3 separate regions of the Homo sapiens genome follow, and regions 1 and 2 are each linked to region 3. The links are contacts of gene promoters, found by promoter capture Hi-C in human tissues and cell types (Jung and others, 2019). All regions are on one chromosome and are shown on one strand. The core of a region is centred on a gene start or on the middle of the fragment in contact, and the rest is flanking DNA. Distances in the headings are between cores, read along the strand shown. Region 1 overlaps LOC107986743 (a long non-coding RNA gene). Region 2 overlaps GNAI1 (G protein subunit alpha i1). Region 3 holds the start of GNAI1 (G protein subunit alpha i1).

The links. The method cuts DNA at HindIII sites, captures the fragments that hold promoters and counts their contacts. A contact is called where the count stands out against the background at its distance.
Region 1: a contact is called between a fragment that was not itself captured here and the fragment with the promoter of GNAI1 in region 3, in 2 of the 25 tissues and cell types used here (dorsolateral prefrontal cortex and stomach).
Region 2: a contact is called between a fragment that was not itself captured here and the fragment with the promoter of GNAI1 in region 3, in 2 of the 25 tissues and cell types used here (IMR-90 fibroblasts and hippocampus).

What each region holds. Positions count from the first base shown.
Region 1 is chr7:80,243,836-80,246,745 of GRCh38, forward strand. LOC107986743 (a long non-coding RNA gene) reads right to left here. Exons shown (of 3, transcript XR_001745025.2): 2 at 2,586-2,667; 3 at 1,696-1,796. It also overlaps the pseudogene RN7SL869P. Among named protein-coding and RNA genes, the nearest start is that of GNAI1, 110 kb to the left of the region's middle. The HindIII fragment of the contact is 6,730 bases long and covers 1-2,910 here.
Region 2 is chr7:80,219,737-80,222,992 of GRCh38, forward strand. GNAI1 (G protein subunit alpha i1) reads left to right here. Exons shown (of 8, transcript NM_002069.6): 8 at 1-3,256. Among named protein-coding and RNA genes, the nearest start is that of GNAI1, 87 kb to the left of the region's middle. The HindIII fragment of the contact is 7,127 bases long and covers 1-3,256 here.
Region 3 is chr7:80,133,376-80,136,409 of GRCh38, forward strand. GNAI1 (G protein subunit alpha i1) reads left to right here and starts at 1,456. Exons shown (of 8, transcript NM_002069.6): 1 at 1,456-1,903. The coding sequence starts at 1,786. The HindIII fragment of the contact is 3,503 bases long and covers 1-1,648 here.

The sequences.
Region 1 (2,910 bases), core at 379-2,878, 110 kb after region 3:
AAAATATGGTAGGTTCTGACTCTTATAATAAGGTTAGTGAGAACTAAATTCAATATTAATTATTGAAAAGTAAAAAATTACTAATTTTTTAAAAAATGCGGAAAATGAACAAATGTAAAAACTCATTGAATTCCATAAGGGGATCAATAAAAGATCAATTAATAATAAAACCTTTAATCACCCCATCTCAACAATCAAAACCTTGAAAATGTAACGGAATAATTTTGAATAGCAAGTAAAAGTAAAACATCATGATAATAAACTTAAAAAGAAAAGTATGTGATATATAGAAAATAAATTTAAAATTTTAAAAGAAGAGGATAATGAGAAGGAATGTCTTACCCTACCATTGAGCAAAATGTCATATAAACCTACGGTAATTTTATCAATTTATTATTGGATGAGGAATAAAGAGGTTATGAAATAGATGAGCCTAAAAATAAACTCAGGCATATATAATTTAGTTTGTGCTAAAAGTAGCAATTTATATAAGTGGGGAAAGAAGAAACTGGTCAAGAACAGTGTTGAAATGAGTGACTAACCATTTGCAAAACATTAAGTCAGATTTTTAAGTCATCCCGTCTAAATAAGGTTAAGCCTTAACTTTCCACTTGAGCCTGTGATTCCCACTCTTCCTGTCCCCTCTGTAACCTCATACAATTTATTTTTCTCATATATTTTTCTGTATCTCCTGTCCCTCCCCCTCCATTCTGTCAACATGTAAGCATCCTTAAGCCTTTTCTGTCTTAAACAAACAACCAACAATAAGGAAATAAAACCTCTCTCAACCCCTCTAGCTCTTGGAGCTTCCACCGTATTTCTTGCCTCTTTTTGACTGAAACAGCTTCCTATTGTTACTCTCTTGGCTGCTTCTCCTGCAGTCACTTCTGCTTATAGCAGCTTGTTGTTTGGCCCCATGTCTTAGACTCAGTCCCTAGAGACAGATTCTGAGACAGAGAATTTGGGCCAAAGGGTTTGTTGTACATGCTCCTAGGAGATGCTCTAATAAGGACACGAGGCAGGCAGGATTAAACAGGGGGAAGGAGATCTCCAATGTGTTTCCTCCTGAGGCCTCAGTTGATCCTGTGGGGAAGGACTGGAATTCTTCCAATTAAGACAAATCTCCTCACCATACAGTCATTGACCTGGGCTGCCTCTTGCATGGCAGTTCTGCAAATGGGGGCACCTGCCTCTGACGGATGGCAATTCCCAGAGAAGGAATGAGGTAATTGGCTCTACAGAGAGGGTCTGTATAAGCAACATAGTATGCACTACACCTAAACTTTGAGAGGTTCACAGCTACTTCCTTCCTAAATTCTATCTTCCTACCAGGGCAAAGCTTTCCAGGATCCTGATTAGTCTTGTTTCCTGGGAAATTATGAAAAGAAGTGTCAGTTGGATGAACTACAGCCCCTGTTGCTGCAGCTGATTTCAAAACTATAACTGATACCATCTTCCTGTACCATCCATTGGAGGTTCTCCTCTCCCTCAGCTCACACTTCCATTGATCTAGGAAGTTTGCCTCATTAGGTGATGCACACCATCATTCTTGAGCAGTATGAGCTCCTGGTTGCTATTCTCAGGCCATGGCAGATGTATTTTCCTATATAGGATTAAAACTGGGCATGGCAGCACCAAAGAGGCCCAAACATATCCCATCCTGCCCTCATGGGGTAGCAGCTGCCCTTCCTCCTCCTGAAGACCGTATCAATTACCTCTTCCAGGGTGGTGCCTCCTTTCCTTCCCTGCTGGTTTCTTGGCACAAGGATTCTGGAAGACTGAATAGCAGTAGTAGTCTAAAATTCAATGGTACTGTTATAGGAACCAGAATTTCCAGACATGTAGAATCTAAAACATATAGGGGAAAACGCCAATTCCCTCCAAGTGGATCACTGGGTGTAATGGTTTCCAGGGCCACTACAACTTTAATCTTTCAGTTCCCAAGCCCTTGAATTCTACCTTTGGGGAACAAAGCTCCATATGATGATTGTTGATTTAGGCTGTATGTGACACCCTGGATGGTGATGCCCATTCTCATAGGGTATCCTTTCTAAGCTGGCACCTCAGCTAGGCTTTTAAGAAGCCAATCTGCCAGGTGTGGTAGTCCACACCTGGAGTCCCATCTGCTTGGGAGGCTGAGGCCAGGAGCATAGCTTGAGCTTCTGAGTTCTGGGCTGTACTGTGATATGCCAATTGGGTGTCCACATTAAGTTCAGTGTCACCATGGAGACCTCCCAGGAACAGGGACCAACAGGTTGCCTAAGGAGTGGTGAACCAGCTCATGTTGGAAATGGAGCAGGTCAAAACTCCTGTGCTGACCAGTGGTGGGATCACATGTGTGAACAGTCAGTGCACTCCAGCCTGGGTAACACAGAAAGACCCCTTTCTCTCTCTCTCTCTCTCTCTTTTTTTTTTTAAAGAGGCCAATTTATCTCTACCAAGCTGATTGCTTCTGAGTTGGGCAGGATATCATAGGAACAGTAGATCCCTTAATCTCAGACAGGACCAGGAGTAGTGTGAGGCAAGAGGGTCCCCTAGAATGCAACATTTAAGGAGCCACTCAATCTCAGGTTTGTGCCACTTACCTCAGGCTGTTTCTCGTTCCATACAAAATGGCTGACCAAGTCCATTACTGGGAGCTCTGCCCATCCAGAAGTTTTCCTCTCACTGTTGATGAAAAAAGTCAAACTCTCTAAATAGTTGAAGAGATTTATTCTGAGTCAAATATGAATGACCACTGGCCTGTGACACAGCCCTCAGGAGGTCCTAAGAACATGTGCCAAAGGTGGCCGGGCCATCGCTTGGTTTTATCCATCTTAGGGAGGCATAACGCATCAATCAATACATGTAAGATGTACATTGGTTTAGTCCCAAAAGGTAGGACAACTGGAAGTGGAGGCTTCCAGGTCA
Region 2 (3,256 bases), core at 207-2,706, 86 kb after region 3:
TTCTGGGATACGTGTGCTGAACATGCAGGTTGGTTACATATGTATACATGTGCCATGGTGGTTTGCTGCACCTATCAACCTGTCATCTAAGTTTTAAGCCCTGCATGCATTAGGTGGAACTCTTCTGATTCCTAATCTCCATTTCAATTTACTGACAGTTCTACAAAGCCTTAAATCTGTTTTTTGTTTGTTTTCCTTTCTATTCCTACTACTACCTATTCAAGTCTTTGCTAAACTTCCTCTTAAAATGGCATTATTAGTTAAATTCCCCACCTCCCATTTCTCTCTTCTCGAAAAACCCAGGTTAGTTATCCTAATGTAGAACTGTGGCCCTATCACCTTCTATTCCTTGATCTGCATTGGCTCTGATTTGTCAATAAAATTAAGTATAAGTTAGCCTGCCATTTAATGCTCTTCATCACCTGAGGCCTGTTCCTTTCTACACTGTATCCAAATAGTGTCCTGTGCATAACCTGGGCTTTCCTCCAAGTACTGTATTACTTACTACATGTGATATGCTTAGAGCAGTGCCTACAATGTGGGAAGTGTTCATTTGTGTCTGTCAATGTTATTTTTATTAGCACTTTTAAAATGGTGTGTAAAATGTATTGGCACTTTTAAATTTGGCACTTTTAAATTTGTTTGTGATACCTCTTTTAGACTCCTCTGGCATCTGTTCTTCAGGGTGCCCTTCTGGGAACTACATGATTCTGATAGAGCTGCCAATCGCATTTCTTACTTCTCCGTCTCTAGGCTTAGACCTGACCAATCCGAGTCCTCCAGCATTGGACGAGTGAGCCAATCATTGTCCCAGTTGCCATTCTTAAAGTCCCTAAGGCGCTTGTGGTTTCTAAAATTCTCTTCATTTCAGTAACCTTCTAAAAGTCTACTTTTTTATGCCTAATCTAGTTTAATCGAATTCAGTTTGTTACTGAAAAAGTACTGATTAAAATCCATATGTTCTCATTGAATACTGACAGTAACTAGAGATCAAAAAAGGCTTAAAGAGGTTAATTAACTTGAGCAAGACCAGATGAAGGTTTTAAACCTAGAGCTTCTGACTCCATGTCTGTCAGAGGACCCCAAAGATGCTACCTTATTTCCAGAAAATGTGTAAGTAGTGTTTCGCCTATCCCCACTCTGCCCTTGAGTTCCTCTGAGCCATAATAGTTTTTCAGATTTAAAAAAGGAGATACTTATTAATGTCTTTCATCAGAGCTATTTTTTACTCCTTAGATGTGAAGCTACTTAAGAGCACAGTTACCATTTTTTACATCATTTGCCGTTTGCAGAACCACCTTATGTAAATGAATTTAGTTGATACTGTAATCATTATTACAGATGGTAGCATCATCATTGCTTAGTGTGTTATGTTGGAAGTAGAAAGTGATGGTGAAAATCCTAGGCTCTGGCACCCCGTCTGGCTTCAAATCCTGGCTCAATTTCTTATTAACTGGGAAAATCTGGGCAAATAATTTAGTTTTGCTCTGCCTCCATTTATATCATCTGAAAATAAATAAGGATTAAATAATCCATTAATTTTAATGGTTGTTGTCAGCATTAAATAAGTTCACAGTACATGTTAAGTACCTAGAGGGGAGTGTGGAATGTATAAGCCGTCAATACAATTTGCTGTTATTTGATTATAAATAATAGTTTTAAGGTGCCTTTAAAATCATAATCAGTGCTTAACAAATGGTTGTTGATACGTGCTTTGAATGAAATGCCTCAAAAACAAAACTCTCATAATTCGTTTTCATAATGAAAACTAAGTGTCTCACATATTGATACTGGAAAATGAGAAAATGCAATCTCTAATCAACTTGAGGACACTTCTGTCGTTTTAATGTAACCAATAGTATGAGAGAGTTTATATTTTAATGTTAGGTTGGAAATTTTCTTTTTTTTTTTTTTTTTTTTTTTTTGGTATGGAGTCTTGCTCCTTCACCAGGCTGGAGTGCAGTCGTGCAATCTCCACTCTCTGCAACCTCCAACTCCATGGTTCAAGCAATTGTCCTGCCTCAGCCTCCCGAGTAGCTGGGATTACAGGCATGCGCCACTACACCCAGCTAATTTTTGTATTTTTAGTAAAGGGGGGTTTCACCATGTTGGCCAGGATGGTCTTGATCACCTGACCTTGTGATCTGACCGCCTCGGCCTCCCAAAGTGCTGGGATTACAGACGTGAGCCACTGCGCCCAGCCAGTTTTCTTTTTTAGTTCTTTTCAAAACCCTTTCTTAACAGTTGAAATGCATTTATATAAAGAAGTTTACGTTTCACAATCCCACTGGCCTGTTTCCCAGGCATTTTTTTAAACCAATTACTGTTTGCTTTGGTGTCTGTTGTGATTTCTCTTATTTAGTTGGATTTTGTAGTTACTTTAAAAGTTACGAAATTTCACATTTCATCAAGTCCAGAGGCCAGAGACACCCAAATATGCACAGACAGGAATCAGCTGCAATTGTCCAAGCCAGAGCTGATTAGGCCTCAACTGGAATAGTCCCACCATGTAATAAATCTTCCTGAGTATTGTGTATAAGGTCAAATATTTCCAGCTTCTTTGATTTTACTGCCCGTCTTCCTAGGTCTCCATCCGTAAAGTGGATGGAAACACTGTCATTGAAGGAGCTAGTTCTTCAAATTTAATTTTTTTTTTTTTTTTTTTCCTGAGACAGAGTTTCGTTCTTGTTTCCCAGGCTGGAGCGCAATGGTGCGATCTCGGCTCACCGCAACATCCGCCTCCCGGGTACAAGCAATTCTCCTGCCTCAGGTTCCCGAGTAGCTGGGATTACAGGCATGCGACACTACACCCAACTAATCTTGTATTTTTAGTAGAGACGGGGTTTCTCCATGTCGGTCGGGCTGGTCTCGAACTCCTGACCTCAGGTAATCCGCCCACCTCGGCCGCCCAAAGTGCTGGGATTACAGGTGTGAGCCACCGCACCTGGCCAAAATATTTTTAATTGATTAAAAATGAGATAATTTGAGGAAACATGCATAGAATACTAGACAGAGACTATTTTAGCAGATAAGAGTGCCACTTTTAGTAAAAGAAGTTGTCACCTAGAAGAAAGTACAGGTGCTCCTTGACTTACCGTGGGTTAAGTCCTGAAAAGCCCACTGTAAGTTGATAATACCTTATTTTGAAAATGCATTTAATACACCTAACCTACCAAATGTAGCTTAGCCTGGCCTAACTTAAAGGTGCTCAGAACACTTAGATTAGCATACAGTTGGACAAGATAGCATAAAGCCT
Region 3 (3,034 bases), core at 206-2,705:
TTCCTTAAGTTTAATTCCAGAGTTCTGATACACATTAGCATTTAGAGTGCCTAGAATTACAGTGTAGAAGGTGACTAAGTACATTTAAAGATTGTTCCTTTTTGTTGTTATATTACAAAAGATTATAGTTGAGGCAGATCTTGAAATTGCATCTCATCAGCCCAGCAGGTGGTGTGACTCCCATAGGAGAACAGGAAAGGACATGTCCCATAAGGAGGCAACTCAGTCTCTGCTAGCTCACAAGCGTGGTCTCAGTGACCTACTCGAAAGCTATTCTGCTTGTATCATCAGTTCAGCCTCACCTTGGAAAACTCAAGCCCAGTTTTCCCAAATGATTTTTAGAGAATAAGATTTCCAGATGAAAACCAGGGAGCATGTTCCAATTTTTAGTACATCAAGGACCATGTTTTTCCTTGCTACCAGCCCCATTTTCTAATCAGTTAACGCTTCCTGTGATATCTGTAGGGGAAAGGTGTAGTGCAACTGACAGGGAGAGATGAGATCTTAAGCCTCTGCTCATTCATTGGGTGCTGAGTAGCAATGCCTCCCGCGGGCCACAGGAACTTATCTCCGCCGATTGTTACAGCTGGAAGGATGGGGAGATAGCACCATAGATCCACTCCTCATTTTATGGGCAAAGAAGCTAAGGCCTGTAAAAATGGCATGCCCAATGGTACAGGAGTTACAAACACGGTCATAAATATTGGCTCCAAATTTGGCATGGAAGCTTATGTGCTGCTCTAGAGGAGATCTGCTACGATGTGGAGATTGGCTTGTGTGGGTGTGTTTTATTGCTCTTGTCATTTAAAAATACTTTTGATTATTTGTCTTCCATTTTTTTTAGGTTACGAGGAAATCCTTCAAAATGCGTTCTTGTGAAAAACGTGAGAGTGCAAGGAAAGAGGGAGGGATAGGAAGAAGGAAAGAGAAGCAAAAGGTAGGAAGAAAGTGACCTTGGTGCCCTTTTCTAGTCCCCTCCCCCGACTTTCCTGTTCTCCACTGTGCCCATCTCTGGTTTCACCAGGCTCCATTCCTTCCCCAGTTCCCTGTTTCTCACGGCCCTGAAACCAGCCGACAGGGATTTGCATTTTGAAAAACCTTGCGTGGCTGCCGGCGCTGGGCATGCTCAAACGCCCAGAACTGGCTTTTTTCGGCAACTTTGGCAGCTCTCCCACCCCCACCCGAAGGGGCAGGTACGCACAGCTCCCTCCGTGTGAGTAAACGGAAAGAAATTACCCCACTCCCGCCCAGGGCAGAAGGCCACAGCCCCGCGGGGCAGTGGCGCGCCCCGGGGACGCTGCCAGGGGGCGCCAGGCCCTCAGTGGTGGCGCGGCGCCGGGGTCCGGGGCCGGGGGGCGCTGTCCGAGGGCACGTGCGCGGGCGCGCGCTCTGGGAGTGGTCGCGGGGTGGTGGGAGGGGCGGGCAGGGGCGGGGCCGCGGCGGCGCGCGGAGGCCGAGCTCGGCTGGGCTTGGCGAGGCTGCGGCGCGGCCACCGGCGGGAGTGCAGCGGCCACTGTACCCAGAGATTCAAAACCCCAAACCCGGGACTTGGGGGCGCTGAGCCGGGCCGGGAAGCAGAGCCTGGTCGTGAGGAACAGCCGCCCGTTGCTGTCTGCCCCTTTGCGGACAGCGTCTCCCTCGACTCCGCTTAGGAAGTGGTGGGGGCGGCGTGGCCCCCGTCGGGAGGCGTTCGAACGCCCGCTAGGAGAGAGAAAGGATTCCCCTGTGCTTGGAGCCCGCACTCGGGCGCGGAGGGAGCGGCGGCAGGCTCTCGCTTTCGGCACCATGGGCTGCACGCTGAGCGCCGAGGACAAGGCGGCGGTGGAGCGGAGTAAGATGATCGACCGCAACCTCCGTGAGGACGGCGAGAAGGCGGCGCGCGAGGTCAAGCTGCTGCTGCTCGGTAAGGGCGGCCGGGTCGGGGCCCGGGGGTCGGCGGGGGACCGGGTGCGGCGCTGCGCGGCCCTCGGCGTTTGGAAACCCGGAGGGAAGGGGGAGGAAGCGCCCGAGGAGGCTTCTGAGCGGGAGCTGGGTCCGGCGGTGCGGAGGCAAGGCGGGTCCCCCTCTCCCGGTGTCTGGTCTCTCTCCGCCCCGGCGGGCGAGGACTCCCCGCGGCGGGGCGGGCGCGTCACTTCACTCGGATGCTTTCGTGCGACCCAGCAAAGAGCCCAGGCGCGAGTCCGAGGCGGCGGGTCGCGTGGAAACCCTTTGCTTTGAAGTTTAGCTCAGCCTTGTAAAGATGAAGGGGCATTCGCGGCTAGAAAATGAAAACACCCCCCCCCCCGCGCCACCAACCCCCTCCCGGAAAACCCTTCTTCGTGTGCGGTGTAGGTTGTGTTTCGACTGTGGTTTTCTCATGCCCAGAGTGCCACGTTTGGTGAAATCAGTGCACCTTTTGTGGGGCCTCTGAGATGGGGCTGAAGCGTCTTTCCTGTTAACTTCCTATGGCGACTCCTTAAGTGGTCAAGGAGCGCTGATTACATTCCCCCTGCGCTGAGAAAAGGCTGCGCTGGATGCTTGATTTTTCTTGCTGTGGGGGCATGGAAGCCACCCAAGTGGGGTTGGGAAGCTTTGCTTTAGTAGTAGGCAAGGCAGATACTCGAGTGGTGAAAACTGCTGTGAAAGAGCGAGAGGGTCACGCCAGACAACAGGGTTCTGTCTCCGCTGCCACCGTTTCTGATGAATGAGATTTGCCAGGTACACGCAAGGCTTTTATTTGTTCTTAGCACTGTTCTGTTCGTGAAACGCTACGTGGAGGTCTTTTCCAAATGTTTGACGGGGAAGAAAATAAAGAGTAAACCAGGGTTTTCACTGAGGGAAGCATTAGGAAAATCTTTACAGGTTAAGATTCGTGAGTTAGGGTTTTCTTTTGTTTGCATGTTTTCTTCTCACACTCTAGGTATTTAGATAGATGAAAAATTTCTCAGAATCTTCATTTGCATTTCCAAGGACTGCTTGTATTTTTATACCAGTTATAATAAAAAAGAAATGTTGCACAAACCTGTTTTCAGTAAGCTTCTGTTTCATTGGTTTA